3 separate regions of the Homo sapiens genome follow, and all the other regions are linked to region 2. The links are contacts of gene promoters, found by promoter capture Hi-C in human tissues and cell types (Jung and others, 2019). All regions are on one chromosome and are shown on one strand. The core of a region is centred on a gene start or on the middle of the fragment in contact, and the rest is flanking DNA. Distances in the headings are between cores, read along the strand shown.

Region 1 (4,471 bases), core at 927-3,426, 200 kb before region 2:
GAAGGAGTCTGGGGTGAACGGCTCATGCCTGTAATCCCAGCACTTTGGGAGGCTGAGGCAGGCAGATCATTTGAGTCCAGGAGTTTAGGACCAGCCTGGGGAACATGGTGAAGCCCAGTCTCTACAAAAAATACAAAAATTAGCCAGGCATGGTGGTGGTGTGCCTATAGACCCAGCTACTCGAGAGGCTGAGGCCAGAGGATGACTTGAGCCCAGGTGGCAAAAGTTGCCATGGGACTGTGCCACTGCACTCCAGCCTGGGCAACAGACACCCTGTCTCAAAAAAAAAAAAAAAAAAAGAAGAGGAAGAAAAAAGGAGGAGGAGGAGGAGGAGGGGGAGGGGGAGAAGGAGGGGGAGGAGGAGGAGGAGGAAGTTCAGAGGCAGTATTCTCTTTTTCTCAGGAGACCTCAATTTTTCATAATCTTAACGCCTTCAACTGATTGGACAAGGCCCACCCAGTTTATGGAGGGTAATCTGCTTTACTCGAAGTCTACTGATATAAATGTTAATTTCATCTTAGAAATATCTTCACAGAGATCTCTTGACTGGTATTTGACCAAAGAGCTAGATATAGTGGCCTAGCCAAGTTGACACACAAAATTGCCATCACAGAGTGAGTCAGGGATCTAACTTTATCTTTTCCCTATTCTCTTTCTGATAAGAGGTCCCACAAAGCCCTGATTCCCTCATATTCTCTTCTGTTAGACTGTAGGGGCTAAAAAAGGTATTCAACAAACTTCCTTCTCTTCTCTTAGTTTGGCCTTCCATTCTCTAGATCCTACAGATGCCTTTTCAAACCTCAAATGACAAATAGACGAAAATAATGGGTGTGATCTAGTCTATTTGTCTCCAAAATTTGGGAGCTTGACCCATAGCAGACAAAAGGCATGCCCCATCTTGATCTGTGGGGGGATTTTTGCTCATGGCAGCGTCCCCTTAGACACCCTGAAGAGATAGCCAGAAAAGTGTGAAATTTCTACTTATCTTCACACTCTAGTAAGCCCTCTAACCCTTGTTTCTCGACTACAAGGCAGGATCCAAGAGTTCTAGAGCTTTCTAGCCAGGGCATTGTGAGGACATGGAGCCCGCAAGGAAAATTTCTGCCCAAGCATATGACATTATGATTAATAAGCATCAGCCATTAAGTATTTTGAGAGCTTCAGATGAAAGTTTCACAAACAGACCAGAGTGTCATATAATAAGGATTATAAGCTTCTAAGTATTTCATACTTGCCTTGATCAAAACAGAAAACTCTTCATGTATACATTATTAATAAATTTGGATGCCCCTTTAAAGGTGATTAATTAGGTCTGAGTCTCCTTCAGACTCTATGATCACACTGAAGATCTACACACTGGTCTGTCTGCTCCAGAGCTCCAGGCTTTTATCTCTCTAGTTTGGCAGGAATCTCCATGGGAGGCCAGTCCTAGCCTTGAGTGTGAAGGGTCACCAGTGGGGCATCATCCCCTGCGTTCTGGAGTGTGCTGAATGCCAACTCCCATTACATGGGGACCAAAATGAGCTCAGGAGCATTGGTATCAAGCCAGACTGCCAGTCTTCCACTCAGGCATCTCGGCCAACCTGCAACAAACACTGCCTGGTCTAGCTATTTAGAACTGAATAATTGGCACAGACATAGATGCCTGCTGACTTGCATTTGGTGCTCCCATTTGAATTTGAATTCTTTCATTAAGCCACAGAGCATCCTTTTTAAAGGTCCAGATCCTCCCAGGATAATTAGACTCTTCCTACAGCAACAGGAAGGCTGAATTATTCTTTCTGTCTCCCTGATCTGGCTGCATTTAAACAAGTTGGTAGGTACTTTCTGAAACAATTAGAAGAAAAGGGATAAGATGAGTGAGGCTCAATTCCCTTTTCAAAAAGTGCAGACAATGGCGGGTGCGGTGGCTCATGCCTATAATCCCAGCACTTTGGGAGGCTGAGGTGGGCAGATCACTTGAGGTCAGGAGTTCGTGACCAGCCTGGCCAACATGGTGAAAACCCGTCTCTCCCAAGAATACAAAAATTAGCCAAGCATGGTTGTGCAAGCCTGTAATCCCAGCTACTCAGGAGACTGAGGCAGGAGAATTGCTTGAACCCGGAAGGCGGAGGTTGCAGTGAGCCGAGATCATGCCACTGCACTCCAGCCTGGGTGACAGAGCGAGAGTCTATCTCAAAAAAACAAACAAACAAACAAAAAAACAACAGTGCAGACAAGAGATCTAAAAATGCTTCTTGCTATCTAGTAAGCTTGGATGTGCCTTCTTGGAGGCTACAGAAGGGTAGCCTTGAAAAATTGGATTTTTGCTGGGTACTTCCCAGTGAATCAAGGCACTGGCATCCCTGGGGGGCTCTGCAAGGTTATGGTCCTGAGGTTTGTGTATGAGAGTCCTGTTGCTGTTCCAGTGCATTTATAAGCCCTTATTGAGATGGCAGGTGACTAGAGGGAAAAGGACTCCTGTTGAGTATTTTTTTTTTTTTTTAAGAAATCCTTTAGGAAGCTGGATTAGGCTACGTGGAAATGTAATTGTGATTCTCAGCAGGCTGAGACTCATTAACAAAGAGCCAGAATAATGGGTTTTTATACAAGGTATTCATTCATTCATTTTTATTCATTTATTCTTTAACTGAATGTCTCCGCTAAGTGCCAAGCACTGGGTGGGATCCAGTCCCTGTCCTCAATGAGCTGAAAGTGTTTATATGGGAAGGGAAGTGTGGGTGGAGAACAGAATGCAGGAGAGACAGACAAGTAAACAGGTTATTAATACACTGTGATAATTACTAAAACAGTGGTAGGTACAAGCATCAAAATTCGGATGGGGAATAATGCATTAGAAATGGTGTAGGGAAAAAGTATGAAGGAGAAGAAAGACTTGACAGTGGACATGAAGCTATAGCTGAGCCTTTTTTTTTTCTTTTTTTTTTTTTGATACAGTGTCTTGTTCTGTTGCCCAGGCCAAAGGGCAGTGGTACAATTATGGCTTACTGCAGCCTCAACCTCCTAGCCTCAAGCAACCCTCCCACCTCAGCCTCCTGAGTCACTGGGACTACAGGTACATGTCACCATGCCCTGGCTAGTTTTTTTTGTGGACTTTTTTTTTTTTTTTTTTTGAGATAGGGTTTCACTCTGTGGCCCAGGCTAGGGTACAGCAGTATGATCTCGGCTCACTGCAACCTCCACCTCCCGGACTCAAGCGATCCTCCCACCTCAGCCCTCCCAGTAGCTGAGACAAGTAGGCACCACCATGCCTGGTTAATTTTATTTTTTTGTAGCAACGAGGTCTCATTGTGTTGCCGAAGCTGATCTTGAACTCTTGGCTCAAGTGATCCTCTTGCCTCGTCCTGCCAAAGTGCTAGAATTACAGGTGTGGGCCACCACACACAGTCTTTTGTTGAGTCTTGAATGATGAGTAGGAGCTTGTCAGACAGATCAAGAAGTAGGTAGAAGAGAAAGGAAGGCATTCCAGTCAGAGACAAGAAAAGGCAAAATGAAGGGGGCATAAAACGACATGGTGTATGCACAGTACTGTGAGTTGGTATGACGAAATGCTAGAAGCATGGGGAAGGGGACAGAAAAAAATGAGACTAGAGAGGTAGCCAGGGGCCAGATCTACAAGTTCTTTCAATACCATGAAATATATCCCTGAGGCAATGTGTCTAATAAGCCGTACCCTGGAATTTTGGGTCACCTGGCACAAACTATGGCTAACTATATCTATCTCTTCCTAAAAGTCTGTGGACCAAGGAGCTCCCCAAAGAGCAAAGGATATGGCACATCCATTGCTTGACCTGGTATATGCTAATAAAAATAAAGTACGGACAGGCACAGGCCCAAGACTAATGCCCTGCAGCAGCCACAAGGGGCTTGCTTCCATATCACTTTCCATTCATTAATTGGTATCCACTGGGTATAATTATGAAGCCACCACATGATACCTGTATCCAGCCTCTCTTTCCACATTTTGCATTCAATAATGTCACATGAGACATGTCTGGCTGTCATCCAGATATTCTGTGCTCACTCCACATATCTGCTCAACCAGTCTAATGGCCTTAATCAAAAAAGGAAATTAGATTACTCTAGCATGACCTGTTTTACTGAAATGCTACTGGCTTAGAGGGATTGCTGCTTAATTTGTAAGCACTCATAAGCCATTAGTAGAATAATCTCTTATGGAATTTTGCCTAGGACTGGTGCCAAGCTCATGAATCCATAGTGGGTGAAACAGGGAGGGAAAAATTAATTGTATTTCCTAAAAATCAAGGCATTTGTCCATCCTTAGTACTCCAGTATGATTCCTATTTTTCATCAGTCCTTGAGATTATCAGCAGCAATCCTGTGATCTTACTAGCAAACATAGTGATAGCTTGAAGAGTGATTTGTTTAGGCCAAGAGACAAAGTCCAGACAGCTGTTACCTCATTTCTCCCCTCTGAGAAGATTTCATCTCTTTAATTAGTTTGTGCCAG
Region 2 (4,736 bases), core at 1,263-3,762:
AGTTTGCTGTGGTTTAATTTCATTGAATGCTGTGTGTACTTGTTTATAAGAGTGAAAAGGAATAGTAATTTGCCCCTCTCTAAATCACTCCTTTTACGAGGCTTTTTTTGGGCATGAGGGGGATGGGAAAGAGACTCATTCTTAGAAGGTACAGCATATCAATGCAAGAGCTGTTAGTTTCCCTCATGCTAATGACGAAGTATAATTTTGAAACATCAGATTCATATGCATATATGGTGCATACATACATAATTGGTGTATTTACAAAGCACCTTGCAGAATCTTAGAACTCTTAGTTCTATTAACACTTAAAGGGAAAACCAGAGTGCAGATCAGTCAAGCACAACGGACTGTAGTTGCTTTCAATTATATTCACCCATTATCTATGTCTAGGAAAGAGATCTCTAAAAAAGCAAAATACATTTTATGAAGCACTGCCACAGTCTGTTACGCATTTATCTCCTTCTACAGTTCCAATTACAGAATAAGCACTAGCTACTACACGGAACGGCAGCACTAGCCAAAAAGATTTTTCTAATCTGAGAGAAATGCTCCCATATTGACTCTGCAAAGAGAAACAACTCCCCTTTCCTTGACTATAAAGAAGGAAGACAGATGGCTTCTTGTTTAGGACTGTAGTTTTACTTTCAGCCTCCTCCCCGAGTTAAAAACAAGATGTACTTTTCTGGCTTTGAGGGAAAATCTCAAGGGAATGTTTTTTATTCTTGGCTGCACTGAATAATTCAACAAACATTTGAGAGAGCTGAGGGAGATACAAAGGAGAAAATACTTTTCCTTGTTCTCAGGGAGTTTACAATCTAATTCTGGAGTTTACAACCAGAATTGGGACTAGAACCATTAGTTTTATGTCTTCACTTGTATTTATTGGTTTAATGGTTATGGGAAACACATGTAGGATTCGCCAGCTCCGTGGTATGGTGGACCCTCTGATTAACCTGAAAGGAAACTAGAAAGAATGCAGAAGAATTCAAGATCTCAATCAGTTGAGTACTTGCTGACCTAGCAGCACTTTCTTATGTTATTTAATCTTGACCACAAGCCTTTGCAGTCATCCCTGCTACCAGCATTTCACAGAAGCGGACAATGAGATTTGGAGAGATAACTCGTCCACAGTCACGAACTCAGGAAATGGCATAGGAAAACATCAATTAGGAATTCTTCTTCCCTGGCCCTTTCTGTAGCTGTCCCCTTACAGGCTACCATTCCAACTTTCCTTGGCTTAGATTCCCTTTCAGTGCATGTAAAGTCAATTTAATTCTGTGTTCTTTTCTTCCCTCTATACTTTAACTAATCTTTAAAACTTGATGTCTCATATTTGGTGAATCAGTCCTTTTGGAAGTCTCACTCCCTTGCAGCTTTGCAAATAAAGTTTTTCTTTTCTTTCCTGTGGCTGTCTTTTGAGACATTCTTTGACAAGATGAAATGACATATGAAGGCTATAACAGTGCCTGATAATGTGGGGTTTTTTTTAACATCATTATCTTTAGTTTTATTTCTTTCACTTTTTAACTGTTTTCACCTCATACTGTATTTCCTAACGACTCGTTTGGAATTGTAAATTTCTTGAAGGTAGTTACCACGTCTACTCTAACTTGTTGCTACTTCCTTGAGTCTTACTGATTTAGCAACAGGAACTTGGTAAGTCTCTTTTGCTCGCCTCTTTATTCCCAGTACTAGTCACTGGAACGTAGTGTGTCTTCAGTAAGTATTTTTAATATGAATAAATTAATGTCCCCTTATTGTTTTTTGTAGACTATCCTGTATAAGAAAGTTTAGCTTAGATCCAGTATGGCTTTGACTTGCGAGCCTGGATAACTTTTTGCCTTTTCCTCATTTCTGGCTATTTATTACCATTTCAACCTTGGGAACATTTCATTAGGTTCTTGGTCCCTTTCAAGCCTCAGTTTCCACATCAGCAAAATGGGGACAGTAGCAACAGATGCTTGTTTCTTCCCGTCTTCTTATCACCTATTCCTTCTCCAGGAAAGGTTTCTTGTGTACGCTTTCCTCTGGAGAAAAAAAACAGCCGACGGGGCGGTAAGAAGCCATCAGGATCCTGAGTTGTGCGTCCAGTAGGGAGAGGGAGAAGTCCCGCTTGCCTCCTAGATCCGGAAGCAATCCGGCCCCTTTTTGGCAGCGAGTTGGCCCGGTCTTTGGCTGCCTCAGACCGCGTTGCCCTCCAGCCTCGAGGCAGAGAGCTGCCTCGGTGCCACAGCTAAATAAGCCCGGCGCCGCGCAGCCTCTGACACGCGCGGAAGGGCCCGGCCTTGTTCTGGCTGCCGCCGCCCTGCCACCAGCACGGCGCTGCACTGGGGGCGGGGAGTCTGATGGGAGACGCGCGCGGCGCTGAGGAGGCGGCGGCCCGGGAGAGGGAGCGGGAGAGGGACTGGGCGCGGGAGGCGGGAGGCGGGGGGACAGAGGGAGGCGCCGCCGCCGCCGCCGCCCGCCCCTTTCCGCTGGGGAGCAGCTGCTGCAGCAGGAGCAGAGCAGGAGACGCGTAGCCGCCGTCGCCGCCGCCGGGGGATGTGGCCGGCGCCTGCCTCTAGCCGCGCCGCCTCTTGAGTACCAGCCGCCGCTGCAGCCGCCGCCGCCGCCTAGCCGTGCGGTGCCAGGCCGCGCCCTCCCCGGGCGCCCGCCGGCTCGCATGCCGAGGGGCTCCGGGGCGTAGCTGCGCGCCCGGCGCCGCCTCCGGGCTCCTTCGGCCCCGCCATGGGCTGCTGCAGCTCCGCCTCCTCCGCCGCGCAGGTGAGGGGCTCCCGCCTCCCGGCCGCCCGCCCGGATGCCTCCCGTGCGCCGCGTCGCGCGGCGGGCGCCCGCCGCCCGATACCTCTCGCTGTCCCCAGCCTCCCCTGAGCGCACCGTGCAGTCCAAAGACCCCCACTCCGCCTTTCCGTCCGCCGGGTCCCGCCGATGCCCGTGCGCTGGCTCCGCGGCTGCCGACTCAAAGGCGCCTCTGCGCGGCGCCTAGTGCGCCCTCAGCTCTTCCCGGCCCCTTCCCCAGTCGGCCCCCTCCTCCCAGTCACACCTGAGCTGCCCGTCCCGCCCGCCTGCAGGTAGAGGCTGCACTGGCGCCTCCTCTGCCCCAGGTGGCATCCCCTTCCCTGTTCTTCCGGGCCTGGCTCCTCTCTTCCACCTCCGTGGAGTCTCCCCGCCATCCGCCGCCCGTTTTCTGTGCTCCTCGCAGGTGTACCCCCAGCAAGAGCTCTTCACCTCTCCCACCGAATTCCAGTTTCTGCTTCATTAGATATTCTGTCCCTTTTCTCTTGCCCGCTGCCCCCTGGCTGGGTTCAGATGGTTTCAGCGGGTCCCGGAGCCCTTCCACGGCCCGCTCCGCAGACCTCGCTTGCTCGCTTGCACCCCATCCCCCCTTAGTGCCGTGACCCGGGCCCCGCGGCCTCCCCGCACTCGGAGGCCCCTGCGGGAGCGCCGACTCTGGGCTGGGAAGGAGATTGGGCACCTGGTGGGTGACGGGAGCGCTACGGAAACTCCCTCTTTGTTGCCAGTGTAACAGGAGGAAGAGGTTCCGAATTTAGTTTTTCTGTGGGCACTGGCTGAATGTTGTCGCTGAGGGCTGAGATGCAGAGATTTCTCTCAGCTTCTACCCTGCCCCCATCCAAATTTCGCCAACCTCCTTCTCTCGGATCCGAGCCCTTAACCTGGGTGGAAATGTTTAGACAACTGTACGAGGATCAAATGTAATAGAACTCGACTACTGGCCACTAATAACTGAGAGGACCTGTTTGTAAATTACCTAATTTAGTGGATTAGCGAGTGTATTTACAAATACTATAAAAAGCAATCAGGAATACTGCATCAAACTGTCTTGTGGTGGTGTATGAAAAATAGGCTCTGACAACGCCTGGGATGTAATCTCACAGTTTCATTAGCGTAGTTTCATTAACTGTGGTCTGTGATTTGTTTGTTTTAGGGGGCAGAAAAGGGCTCTTGTTTTTAGAAATAAAGGATGGTTGGTTCTTGGTGAAGAAAAACGCTAGTTTGGGGGGAAAAAATTCCTCCAGAAAGCTAGCATCTGTGATAATGCCAGAAGTGTTTTTGCTGCTGCTAAATGACTATATATAACTCAGTTTTAAATAACCTGCATACTTGTTCTGAAAATCTGAGATCTGTTAGAGAGAAAATGACTAGAATTGCAGATGAATGGGGGACATTTGTGTTTTATTAGGTATCCATCCTATCATCCTATTCCTCCAGTCTTTTTTTTTTTTTTTTGAGTGTTTGCTTACCCGTTAGCTTTTTTTTTTCCTGCTAGCATTATAGTCAGGCTTTTTGGTGTAGTTAAAGATTCCTATTCAGTTATAATAGCAAAGTAAAACTATACGTAGAGGTGTTAGGAAGGAGAGGCTTGGTATATCAGAGTTTTCATATTAACATATAAAGGTGTAGAATTGCACATAACTTTCAACTGGTTAGGAATTTGTGGGGGTCTAGTTGGGTGCTCTTTAATATTTACTTAAGTATAATTTTCACCAAAAAGGTGTTTTTCAGATTGCCTTTCTTTTCAGAATTGAGTTAATTTACATTCCCTTTTGGTGGTGAAATGCCTTTAAGACAGAAAAGTATTGATAGTTTATGGATAGCTTGTTCAGTGCATGAACAGTTAAATTTGGGAGGGATGGGTGCTGCATCAGAACTCTGCTTTAAAACCGATAGTGGGTCTTGCATTTGTCTAGCTCCACGTCATACTTTTCAGAATG
Region 3 (4,442 bases), core at 1,227-3,726, 250 kb after region 2:
TTGCCTTCTGGTAGCTTTTGAATGTGTTTGCTCTTGCTTTTCTAGTTCTTTTAATTGTGATGTTAGGGTGTGAATTTTGGATCTTTTCTGCTTTCTCTTGTGGGCATTTAGTGTTATAAATTTCCCTCTACACACTGCTTTGAATGTGTCCCAGAGATTCTGGTATGTTTTGTCTTTGTTCTCATTGGTTTCAAAGAACATCTTTATTTCTGCCGTCATTTTGTTATGTACCCAGTAGTCATTCAGGAGCAGGTTGTTCAGTTTCCATGTAGTTGAATGGTTTTGAGTGAGTTTCTTAATCCTGAATTCTAGTTTGATTGCACTGTGGTCTGAGAGACAGTTTGTTATAATTTCTGATATTTTACATTTGCTGAGGAGAGCTTTACTTCCAAGTATGTGGTCAATTTTGGAATAGGTGTGGTGTGGTGCTGAAAAAAATGTATATTCTGTTGATTTGGGGTGGAGAGTTCTGTAGATGTCTATTAGGTCCACTTGGTGCAGAGCTGAGTTGAATTCCTGGATATCCTTGTTAACTTTCTGTCTCGTTGATCTGTCTAATGTTGACAGTGGGGTTTTAAAGTCTCCCATTATTATTGTGTGGGAGTCTAAGTCTCTTTGTAGGTCACTCAGGACTTGCTTTATGAATCTGGGTGCTCCTGTATTGGGTGCATATATATTTAGGCTAGTTAGCTCTTCTTGTTGAATTGATCCCTTTACCATTATGTAATGGCCTTCTTTGTCTCTTTTGATCTTTGTTGGTTTAAAGTCTGTTTTATCAGAAACTAGGATTGCAACCCCTGCCTTTTTTAGTTTTCCATTTGCTTGGTACATCTTCCTCCATCCTTTTATTTTGAGCCTATGTGTGTCTCTGCACGTGAGATGGGTTTCCTGAATACAGCACACTGATGGGTCTTGACTCTTTATCCAATTTGCCAGTCTGTGTCTTTTAATTGGAGCATTTAGTCCATTTACATTTAAGGTTAATATTGTTATGTGTGAATTTGATCCTGTCATTATGATGTTAGCTGGTGATTTTGCTCGTTAGTTGATGCAGTTTCTTCCTAGCCTCGATGGTCTTTACAATTTGGCCTGATTTTGCAGTGGCTGGTACTGGTTTTTCCTTTCCATGTTTACTGCTTCCTTCAGGAGCTCTTTTAGGGCAGGCCTGGTGGTGACAAAATCTCTCAGCATTTGCTTGTCTGTAAAGTATTTTATTTCTCCTTCACTTATGAAGCTTAGTTTGGCTGGATATGAAATTCTGGGTTGAAAATTCTTTTCTTTAAGAATGTTGAATATTGGCCCCCACTCTCTTCTGGTTTGTAGAGTTTCTGCCGAGAGATCCGCTGTTAGTCTGATGGGCTTCCCTTTGTGGATAACCCGACCTTTCTCTCTGGCTGCCCTTAACATTTTTTCCTTCATTTCAACCTTGGTGAATCTGACAATTATGTGTCTTGGAGTTGCTCTTCTTGAGGAGTATCTTTGTGTCATTCTCTGTATTTCCTTAATCTGAATGTTGGCCTGCCTTGCTAGATTGAGGAAGTTCTCCTGGATAATATCCTGCAGAGTGTTTTCCAACTTGGTTCCATTCTCCCCGTCACTTTCAGGTACACCAATCAGACATAGATTTGGTCTTTTCACATAGTCCCATATTTCTTGGAGGCTTTGTTCATTTCTTTTTATTCTTTTTTCTCTAAACTTCCCTTCTCGCTTCATTTCATTCATTTCATCTTCCATTGCTGATACCCTTTCTTCCAGTTGATTGCATCGGCTCCTGAGGCTTCTGCATTCTTCACGTAGTTCTCGAGCCTTGGCTTTCAGCTCCATCAGCTCCTTTAAGCACTTCTCTGTATTGGTTATTCTAGTTATACATTCGTCTAAATTTTTTTCAAAGTTTTCAACTTCTTTGCCTTTGGTTTGAATTTCCTCCTGTAGCTTGGAGTAGTTTGATCGTCTGAGGCCTTCTTCTCTCAACTCGTCAAAGTCATTCTCCATTCAGCTTTGCTCCATTTCTGGTGAGGAGCTGCGTTCCTTTGGAGGAGGAGAGGCGCTCTGGTTTTTAGAGTTTCCAGTTTTTCTGTTCTGTTTTTTCCCCATCTTTGTGGTTTTATCTACTTTTGGTCTTTGATGATGGTGATGTACAGATGGGTTTTTGGCGTGGATGTCCTTTCTGCTTGTTAGTTTTCCTTCTAACAGACAGGACCTCAGCTGCAGGTCTTTTGAAGTTTGCTAGAGGTGCACTCCAGACCCTGTTTGCCTGGGTACCAGCAGCGGTGGCTGCAGAACAGTGGATTTTCGTGAACCGCAAATGCTGCTGTCTTATCGTTCCCCTGGAAGTTTTGTCTCAGAGGAGTACCCGGCCGTGTGAGGTGTCAGTCTGCCCCTATGGAGGGGGTGCCTCCCAGTTAGGCTGCTCGGGGGTCAGGGGTCACGGACCCACTTGAGGAGGCTGTCTGCCTGTTCTCAGATCTCCAGCTGCATGCTGGGAGAGCCACTGCTCTCTTCAAAGCTGTCAGGGACATTGAAGTCTGCAGAGGTTACTGCTGTCTTTTTGTTCGTCTGTGCCCTGCCCCCAGAGGTGGAGCCTACAGAGGCAGGCAGGCCTCCTTGAGCTGTGGTGGGCTCCACCCAGTTTGAGCTTCCCGGCTGCTTTGTTGACCTAAGCAAGCCTGGGCAATGGCGGGTGCCCCTCCCCTAGCCTCGCTGCCACCTTGCAGTTTGATCTCAGACTGCTGTGCTAGCAATCAGCGAGACTCCGTGGGTGTAGGACCCTCGGAGCCAGGTGCGGGATATAATCTCCTGGTGCGCTGTTTTTAAAGCCCGTCGGAAAAGTGCAGTATTGGGGTGGGAATGACCTGATTTTCCAGGTGCCGTCTGTCACCCCTTTCTTTGACTAGGATAGGGAACTCCCTGACCCCTTGCTCTTCCCGAGTGAGGCAATGCCTCGCCCTGCTTCGGCTCGTGCAGGGTGCGCTGCACCCACTGTCCTGCGCCCACTGTCTGGCACTCCCTAGTGAGATGAACCCGGTACCTCAGATGGAAATGCAGAAATCACCTGTCTTCTGCGTAGCTCACGCTGGGAGCTGTAGACCGGAGCTGTTCCTATTCGGCCATCTTGGCTCCAGCTCGGGTTGTTTCTTTTCTTATTGTTGAATATTAAGAGTTCTTTGGGCCGGGCGCGGTGGCTCACGCCTGTAACCCCAGCATTTTGGGAGCCCGAGGCGGGCAGATCACAAGGTCAGGAGATCGAGACCATCCTGGCTAACATGGTGAAACCTCCTCTGTACTAAAAATACAAAAATTAGCTGGGCGTAGTGATGGGCGCATGTAGTCCCAGCTCCTCGGGAGGCTGAGGCAGAATGGCATGAACCCGGGAGGCGGAGCTTGCAGTGAGCCGAGATTGCACCACTGCACTGCAGCCTGGCAGCAGAGTGAGACTCCATCTAAAAAAAAAAAAAAAAGAAAAGGAATTCTGTGTAGTCCTTATCAGATGTTTCTTTTGCAAATATTGTCTCCCTGTCTGGCTTTTTTTCCCCTTGACGATGTCTTTTACAGAGCAAGATTTTTAATTCTAATAATGTTTAGCCTATCTTACTGTTTCTTTCATGAAGCTTGCCTTTGGTTCCTTTGATCTATTTGTCTCTTCTTTCACCAGTACCAGGTCTTGATGACTGTAGCTTTTTTTTTTTTTTTTTTTGTGTCGGAATCTCGCTGTGTCGCCCAGGCTGGAGTGCAGTGGCACAATCTCTCTGCTCACTGCAAGCTCCGCCTCCCGTACTATGTCTGAGAGTTGACTAGTTTCAGTCTTCCAACTTTGATCTTCTTTTTCAATACTGTGTTGCCTTTATCTGGATCCTTTGCCTTTCCATATAAACTTTAGAGTCATCTTATTGATATCCACAAAATAGCTTACTGGGATTATGATTGGGATTGCAATCAATCTGTAGGTCAAATTGGGAAGAACTGACATCTTAAGAACATTGAGTATTTCTATCCATAAACATTGGAATGTCTCTACATTGATTTAGTTCTTTGATTTCTTTCATTAGAGTTTTGTAGTTTTCCTCATATAAACATGGAACATATTTTGTTAGATTTGTATCAAAAGATTTCATTTTGGGGGTGCTGATGTAAATGGTATTGTGTTTTAATTTCAAATTTCACTTGTTCATTTCTGGTATACAGGAAAGTGGTAGGCCTTGTATCCTGCAGCCTTGCTGCAATCACTTACTAGTTTCAGGAGTTTTTTGTTGATTCTTTTGGATTTTCTACCTAGATGATCATGTTGTTTGTTAACAAAGACAGTTTTATTTCTTTCTTCCCAACCTGAATACCTTGTATTGTCGTACTGCATTACCTAGGACTTCCAGTACTATGTTGGAAGCAGTAGAAAGAGGGGGATCCTTGCCTTGTTCCTGAACTTAGTGGAAACATTTTGAGTTTCT

What was found. The method cuts DNA at HindIII sites, captures the fragments that hold promoters and counts their contacts. A contact is called where the count stands out against the background at its distance.
Region 1: a fragment that was not itself captured here is called in contact with the fragment with the promoter of SLC44A1 in region 2 in 1 of the 25 tissues and cell types used here (hippocampus).
Region 3: a fragment that was not itself captured here is called in contact with the fragment with the promoter of SLC44A1 in region 2 in 2 of the 25 tissues and cell types used here (hippocampus and pancreas).

What each region holds. Positions count from the first base shown.
Region 1 is chr9:105,043,118-105,047,588 of GRCh38, forward strand. No RefSeq gene overlaps it. Among named protein-coding and RNA genes, the nearest start is that of CT70, 54 kb to the left of the region's middle. The HindIII fragment of the contact is 6,129 bases long and covers 1-4,471 here.
Region 2 is chr9:105,242,139-105,246,874 of GRCh38, forward strand. It overlaps SLC44A1 (solute carrier family 44 member 1), which reads left to right and starts at 2,513. Exons shown (of 16, transcript NM_080546.5): 1 at 2,513-2,766. The coding sequence starts at 2,731. LOC112268038 (a long non-coding RNA gene) reads right to left here and starts at 3,455. Exons shown (of 3, transcript XR_002956866.2): 1 at 2,881-3,455. RefSeq lists enhancers at 2,155-3,059, 3,060-3,963 and silencers at 2,286-2,885, 2,896-3,035, 3,376-3,455. The HindIII fragment of the contact is 14,998 bases long and covers 1-4,736 here.
Region 3 is chr9:105,492,528-105,496,969 of GRCh38, forward strand. All of the region lies in intron 7 of FSD1L (fibronectin type III and SPRY domain containing 1 like), which reads left to right. Among named protein-coding and RNA genes, the nearest start is that of FSD1L, 47 kb to the left of the region's middle. The HindIII fragment of the contact is 4,377 bases long and covers 289-4,442 here.